Regions from separate parts of the Homo sapiens genome. Here region 2 is linked to region 1. The links are contacts of gene promoters, found by promoter capture Hi-C in blood cells and fetal thymus (Javierre and others, 2016). All regions are on one chromosome and are shown on one strand. The core of a region is centred on a gene start or on the middle of the fragment in contact, and the rest is flanking DNA. Distances in the headings are between cores, read along the strand shown.

Region 1 (3,372 bases), core at 498-2,997:
CCCTCCCACTGTCTCTGTGGTTTCCAGAATGGAAAAAACGTAAATATCGCTATACAACGCCCGACCCCTGCCGCCCCAAAGAATCTCAGGAGGTCAAGACCCCTGGATCTCCTTGCACCTCTGCTGTGGATTCCATGCAAGGCTTCACAAACATGCTTTTATGTGCGTGTCCAGCAGCAGAAGCCATGTGAGTGTGCAGGAGACAGGGAGCCCTTTCGAGCCTCCATGGAAAGCCAGCTCGCTTGGGCTGTGCTGGAGGCAGTGCCCCTCTCTGCTGGCTGCAGTAAAGGCTGTGAGCAAAAGGAGGGAGGCTGAAGGCCAGTAAAATAGAATCATATTTACAGTGATACAAAGCCACGTGCCACACTTTCTACTCGGTGGTGGGAATGACAGCATAAGGGTTTAATGCCTACATACAGTTAGGATCAGGCTGGAATTTGGGTGTTTGGCTCCCCATGTTTTAACTCACATTCCTTTAATTGGGTCATAGTCCTGCCCTCGCTGTCATTTTTGCCAGCTGCATGGTTCCCTCTGAGCTGCAGAATCAGGTAGACCAGAAGACCCAGGTGATGCTGGTGTTTACCTTCTTAGCTGGGAATTAGTTGGCAGCGGCCGCATGGCTCTGACATTCATTTCAAATATAACCTGCAAGGAGCAAGGAAGAAACCGCAAGCAACACAACTTTTTCGCCCTCAAATTACATCCCAGCTGAGACCGCTGCCTGGGATTTTCTCAGCATCCTTCCTGCCCCTCAGTAGGACATGCTGAGCTGTTCTGAGCCATTTCACCTGTGTTGGGAGCTGTGGCGGGAAATCAGACGGAGCGGCGTCTTGTAGCTCATTTGCCTCACGGTGGCTCCTGCTGCCTTTCTCCTCTTCCCATGTGGCCAGTGGCCAGCCAGCCCCTGCTGTCAGCACTTCTGAGCTAAGATCTCTCTGACTCCACAGGAACTGGCAGTGGGAATCCAAAAGTCACCATGGTGACGACTCACTTAGGAGTGTGCTGTGTTTCCTGATCGCGCAGCAGCCGTGGGGGCAGGCGGGGCAGCTGCGCTTCCACCCACTCTGAAGTTCACCCAAAGCTGCCCACTGGCCGGTGTTCCTCCAGCGTGGGCCTCAGCCCGCAGCATTGGCGTCCCCTGGGAGCTGTTTAGAAATGCAAATGTCGGGTCCTGCGCAGTCTTGCTGCTCAGAGTCTGCATGTTCCCAGGGCCCAGGAGGCTGCTGCATGCCGTGAAGTGTGAGGAGCCGGGTTGGGGTGGCCCACCCTGTGCACAGAGCCGGGAGGTGCCGTGGCCTGCACTGCCCCACCCCGACCTTCTGGCAGAAAGTCCAGGCTTTCCCTGCTCTACGCCGACTCCCACCATAGTCTTATTGAGATCTCATATGAGGAACCAACTCCATTCACAGCTGAGGGGCTGAATCAAAGCACTGGGGGCAGCAGTGCGGGGTGGGTGAGACCCTGTCTGGAAAATGGGACAGCGTTAGGGAGGAGTGTGTCCATGCAAGGAAGGCTTAGAAATGCTCCCACACATGTTGGGGTCTCAAAGTTTCAGCAGTGGTCACTGCCTGAGAAGCTCCGGCCAGGTCAGAGGTGCCAGGGCACAGGTCAGGAAGCAGCTGAACCCCTGCCTGCTAGCCAAGCTCCGGTTCTCACCCACTGTGCCTGGGTCACACCGTCCTATCCGGATTCCACTGGTATTCACATTCCTGGGATGTGGCGGAGTTCCAGCTGGGATCCGGCTGCCCATCGCTGTGGCGGGAAGAGAGCTGCTGAACAGCATGCGAGACCCCTTTGCAGAGGGGCACTGCTGCGCTGCCAAGGCAAAGCCTGAACAGGAGGAGGAGACGAGGGTCACAGTGATAATACCCCTTGGAGGGCAAGCTGGGGTGGGCCGAGGAAGGGGCCGGGGCAGAGCTTGAGGAATCTGCTGAAGGAACAGCCTGTTCAGGCTGACTCAGGTCGGCCCACAACTCCCTTCACCACCCCAGGTCCTTTGAGGTACAGAGGAGGCAAAGGAGAGAGCAGCTTTGCAGCCTGCAAAAGGTCTCCTGGCCCAGGCTTGTCTAATTTGCAGCTCTAGGCTCCCGTTCACAGCCCCGCATGTCTCCATGCTGGTTAGGATGATGCTAGCCCTGTGATAAACACATCCCATCATTTCACTAGCTTCACGCTCTGGAAGTTTTATTTCTTACTCATGTCCCTGTCCAGTGCTGTTGCTCCTGGTACTAGGCAGCACTCCGCATAATGAATCAGGAGCCGAGGCTCGTCAGTGCTCCACGGGGTGACTCAGGGTGCAAGGCTTCTTGTGTCCAGTGGCTCCGTCATCTCTCTTTCACCTTATTGCTGGGCTGCATCTTTTTTTGTGCCATGAACCCCTTCCAGTGGCCTGATGGTCTCAGAATAAGATTTTTTAACACATTAAAGAAAACACAAGACAGCAAGGAATAGGATATGAAAATGTTTTGTACTGCCAGCAAAACACCAGTCCTGCTGAAGCTACTGTGCTTTTTTGCCTACACTCATAATTGATGGAAATACTAAATATGAGGTACAAATAATGCAGTTGTTTTCCCATTGGAGGTCACAGGCCCCTGAATCTAACCCTGGGTTTACAGCTGTAGCCAAGAGTCAGGGAGAAGAGTGTGGAGAAGGCACAGCCGCTTCCTTGTGTCTGTGCTGGGAAGGACACCGGTCCCTCCACGCCCCACTGGCCAGCACCAGTGACAGAGCCACATCTAGTGGGTGGGCCGTGAGAAAAGAAACACTTCAGCTGAATTAAATTTAAAAGCATGTAATTGAGCAATAAACAATTTGCGAATCAGGCAGCCTTCTAAGCCAGAGTAGACTCAGAGACTCAGGCGCAGCCGCATGATGGAAGAACGCACCCTGTGTGTTCACCCGGCGTTCTTCCCTCTATGCGATTGCACAGCGTTTTCCCCAGTGTGTATTTACCCGGCGTTCTCCACCCTGTGTGATCGCCCAGCGTTCTCCCCTGTGTGTGTTCCCCTGGCGTTCTCCCCTCTGTGCATCCACCAGGCGGTCGCCCTTCTGTGTGTTCCCGCGGCGTTCTCCCCATGTGTTCACGTGGCGTTCTCTCCCCTGTGTGTTCCCACGGCGGTCTCTTTACTCTGTGCGTTCCTCGGCATTCTTTCTCCTGTGTGCGTTCACCAGGGGTTCTCCTTTCTTTGTGCGTTCACATGGCATTCTCCACCCTGTGCGTTCGCTCGGCGTTCTCCCCTCTGTGCCTTCACCAGGTGTTCTCCCTTCTGTGTGTTCGCACTGCATTCTCCCTTCTGTGTGTTCACGTGGCGTTCTCTCCCCTGTGCGTTCAAACTGCGTTCTCTTTACTGTGTGCGTTTCCCCGGCGTT
Region 2 (3,372 bases), core at 379-2,878, 660 kb after region 1:
ACATTGTTAGTAGAATGACTTCATGCATTCCATTGTGAGCTGCCTGTTTATGTGTGTGAACAGGACTCAGATCCGTGAGCACTCCCAGGCTGTGAATCTTTTTGAATGGACACAGAAAGCTAGGACCTCGGAACAAAGGTTTTAAATTAGAAACAGAAGGCAGCGAACAAAAAACTTTTCTCACTACTGAAATCCTGTATCAGTGAAGGTAAAAAAGAAAATTCTGTTGTGAGTTTAGAAGTGTATTTGTCTTTAACATATTGCTCTCAGCCATTAGGAATTGTTTTATGTTTTATGGAAGACCCGCGTGAAGGCCGGGCACGGTGGCTCACGCCTGTAATCCCAGCACTTTGGGAGGCCAAGGCGGGCGGATCACGAGGTCAGGAGATCGAGACCATCCTGGCTAACACGGTGAAACCCTGTCTCTACAAAAAAATACAAAAAATTAGCCAGGCGTCATGGCGGGCGCCTGTAGTCCCAGCTACTCGGGAGGCAGGAGAATGGCATGACCCCGGGAGGCGGAGCTTGCAGTGAGCCGAGATCGTGCCACTGCACTCCAGCCTGGGCGACAGAGCGAGACTCCGTCTCAAAAAAAAAAAAAGAAGACTTGTGTGAAGAAGGCGTCCTGATTGCAACTGGACATCTCAATGGGCATTTGGTAATTAAAGGTCTGCTATAGTCATGGGACTAGACTTAGGAAGGAATCTTAGCATGGAGAGAGAGCAACCTGTCCATAAATATTCACAAAAGGACAATGGTACCATTTTCTAGAAAATACTGGATTTTGATCTAAATAGGTGTCTACAAATATTATTTACTATAATTATGGAATGTATAAATTGTATATAAAAACATGTCTTTATGTCTTTATCAACATAAAAAAGTTAATTTTCTCTAGAATTCTAAGAATGAATAACACATCAATAAAATTTTTTACATGATGATAAATTTAAAGAGTTTTCCAGATGTATATCTTTATATATATGCATATAAAAATGTTATTGAATATTGAAATATCAAAATAAATCTTGCATAGTTGAAAGGACTATACATTTCTAGTTTTACACCAAAGGAAGAATTTATTGTTTAACTATTAAAGCTTTATCCTTAATATTAAGCAGTATATCTCATTGTGAATTTATATTCTTTTTTATTTACAGGCTAATGAAAATTTATAATATCAAATGCAATGTTCTACTACCACATGAGCAAATCGGCCTTCTTGATGGTGCTAAAATATCTCTTTGCAATGTCTAATCCTGGACCCTGGCTTTTGGCTGCTCCTAGGAGAAGGAAACCAGGCCCGTGGTACACACTGATAAGGACAGTGGGCTCCCCCAGGAAAAGCAGATGAGATTTCTCGTATAGATGACAAATGCGTTATCTAACATTATATTTTCATTTCTCTTAGGGAATATTTTTGTATGTCTACTGTGTTTCCATCTTTTTCATCACTTAGCATTAAAATATTCATTCAGTAAAGTGATTGGTGTAACCGGCATTTAAAAATTCTAATTGCATGCAAAGTAATATTTTGCATCATCCACATAGTTTCATTTCAAAGATGTACAAAAAGATAGGCATGATTCCTGCCTTAGAAGAGAATGTGGTCCGGGCGCGGTGGCTCACGCCTGTAATCCCAGCACTTTGGGAGGACGAGGTGGGAGGATCACGAGGTCAGGAGATTGAGACCATCCTGGCTAACACGGTGAAACCCCGTCTCTACTTAAAAAATACAAAAAATTAGCCGGGCATGGTGGCGGGCGCCTGTAGTCCCAGCTACTCGGGAGGCTGACGCAAGAGAATGGCATGAACCCGGGAGGCGGAGCTTGCAGTGAGCGGAGATGGCTCCACTGCACTCCAGCCTGGGCGACAGAGTGAGACTCCGTCAAAAATAAAAAATAAAAAATAAGAATGTGGTGTGACAGTCTCAATTTGCTAGACAGGGTGGTATTTGGGGGGGGCCAGTCTGTCCGATGGTTGAACATGGCTGAAAGTTTCATTTACAAATGTGCAGCGTTCTCTAGAGAGAAGACAAAATGCTGTCGTGACTTTAGAGGCAGAAGTTCCAGTTAACACTTTTGAATCAAAATAAATCTTACATATTAAGCTAGGAAAGGTGGTTTTCTCCAATAGTGTTAGAAATACGAAGCTTTTGAAAGAAATCATCTTTATTATCTCTGTAAAAATCAAAGACTTTAAAGCATTTTTGGTGTGGTTTTTGGTTACCCCTCTGTATTCAAAGAACTGAAATCAGTTTATTTGTCCATAGGTATATACATAGCTATAAAAGTATTTAGTGCTAGCAAGAATGGGATAGATTTTGGTGGACAACTTACGGAATTTCATGAAGGTTTCAAAACAAGGATGAAAAATGTAGTCCTTTTTAAGAATGAAAGCTCAGCTGGATGGTAAAGCTCTAGAAGCTGTCCCATAGTAAAGACTAAAGCAGGTGTATCTGAGCCTGGAAAGAAAGGTCCAAGGGGAGGTGTAAGTAGCCTGAAATACCTGGGGTTTGCATGTGGATTTTATACTTATTTCATGTTTTATTGACTATTCTGCTGTGGACTGCACTGTGTCCTTCTCATCCCCAAAATTTCTATGTCGAAGACCTAATCTTCAATGTGGTGGTATTTGGAGGTCACCTTTGGGCAGTGACAAGGTTCAATGAGATCATGAGGGAGGCCTTACAGGGGACTGATGTTCTCTGCTGTCTGCCAGCCAGGAGGAGGCCCTCGCCAGAACTCAACCATGCTGACATCCTGATCTTGGACTTCCAGCCTCCAGAGCTGTGAGAAAATAAATTTCTGTTGTTTAAGCCATCCAGCATGTGAAATTGTGTTACAGTAGCCTGAGCTAAGGCAAGAAATATTCCAATAAATATATTTCGTATTTATTCTAGGTAGCATCAGAGACCAGAAATAAGGCCAATGGGAATAATTTACAAAGAAGTTAAAGTTCAGTTCAATACGAGGGAAATTTTATTTTAAATTTTTTTTGAGGCAGCGTCTCACTCTGTCACCCAGGCTGGAGTGCAGTGGCACAATCTTGGCTCACTGCAACCTCCCCCTTCTGGGTTCCAGCAATTCTCCCACCTCAGCCTCCCCAGTAGTTGGGATTACAGGTGTGCGCCACCACGCCTGGCTAATTTTTGTATTTCTAGTAGAGACGAGGTTTCACCATGTTGAGCAGGCTGGTCTCGAACTTCTGACCTCAAGTGATCCACCTGCCTCGGCTTCCCAAAGTGCTGGGATTACAGTCGTGAGCCACCGTGCCCAGCACTAGGGAGATGTTTTAAAAAGGGACTCAAGGTGTATCCTGGGTCCAGGCTGAGCCCTGGTAGCTTGGATGTGTGTAACCCTAAACTGGAGG

What was found. The method cuts DNA at HindIII sites, captures the fragments that hold promoters and counts their contacts. A CHiCAGO score of 5 or more calls a contact.
Region 2: a fragment that was not itself captured here is called in contact with the fragment with the promoter of RPS6KA2-AS1 in region 1 in 1 of 17 cell types (endothelial precursors); the score reaches 5.4 in endothelial precursors.

What each region holds. Positions count from the first base shown.
Region 1 is chr6:166,902,073-166,905,444 of GRCh38, reverse strand. It overlaps RPS6KA2-AS1 (RPS6KA2 antisense RNA 1), which reads right to left and starts at 1,747. Exons shown (of 2, transcript NR_046644.1): 1 at 1,657-1,747; 2 at 376-1,145. RefSeq lists enhancers at 630-1,310, 1,311-1,992, 3,163-3,372. The HindIII fragment of the contact is 22,454 bases long and covers 1-3,372 here.
Region 2 is chr6:166,245,927-166,249,298 of GRCh38, reverse strand. The region is part of intron 2 of LOC101929297 (a long non-coding RNA gene); the gene reads right to left. Among named protein-coding and RNA genes, the nearest start is that of PRR18, 61 kb to the left of the region's middle. The HindIII fragment of the contact is 1,053 bases long and covers 1,102-2,154 here.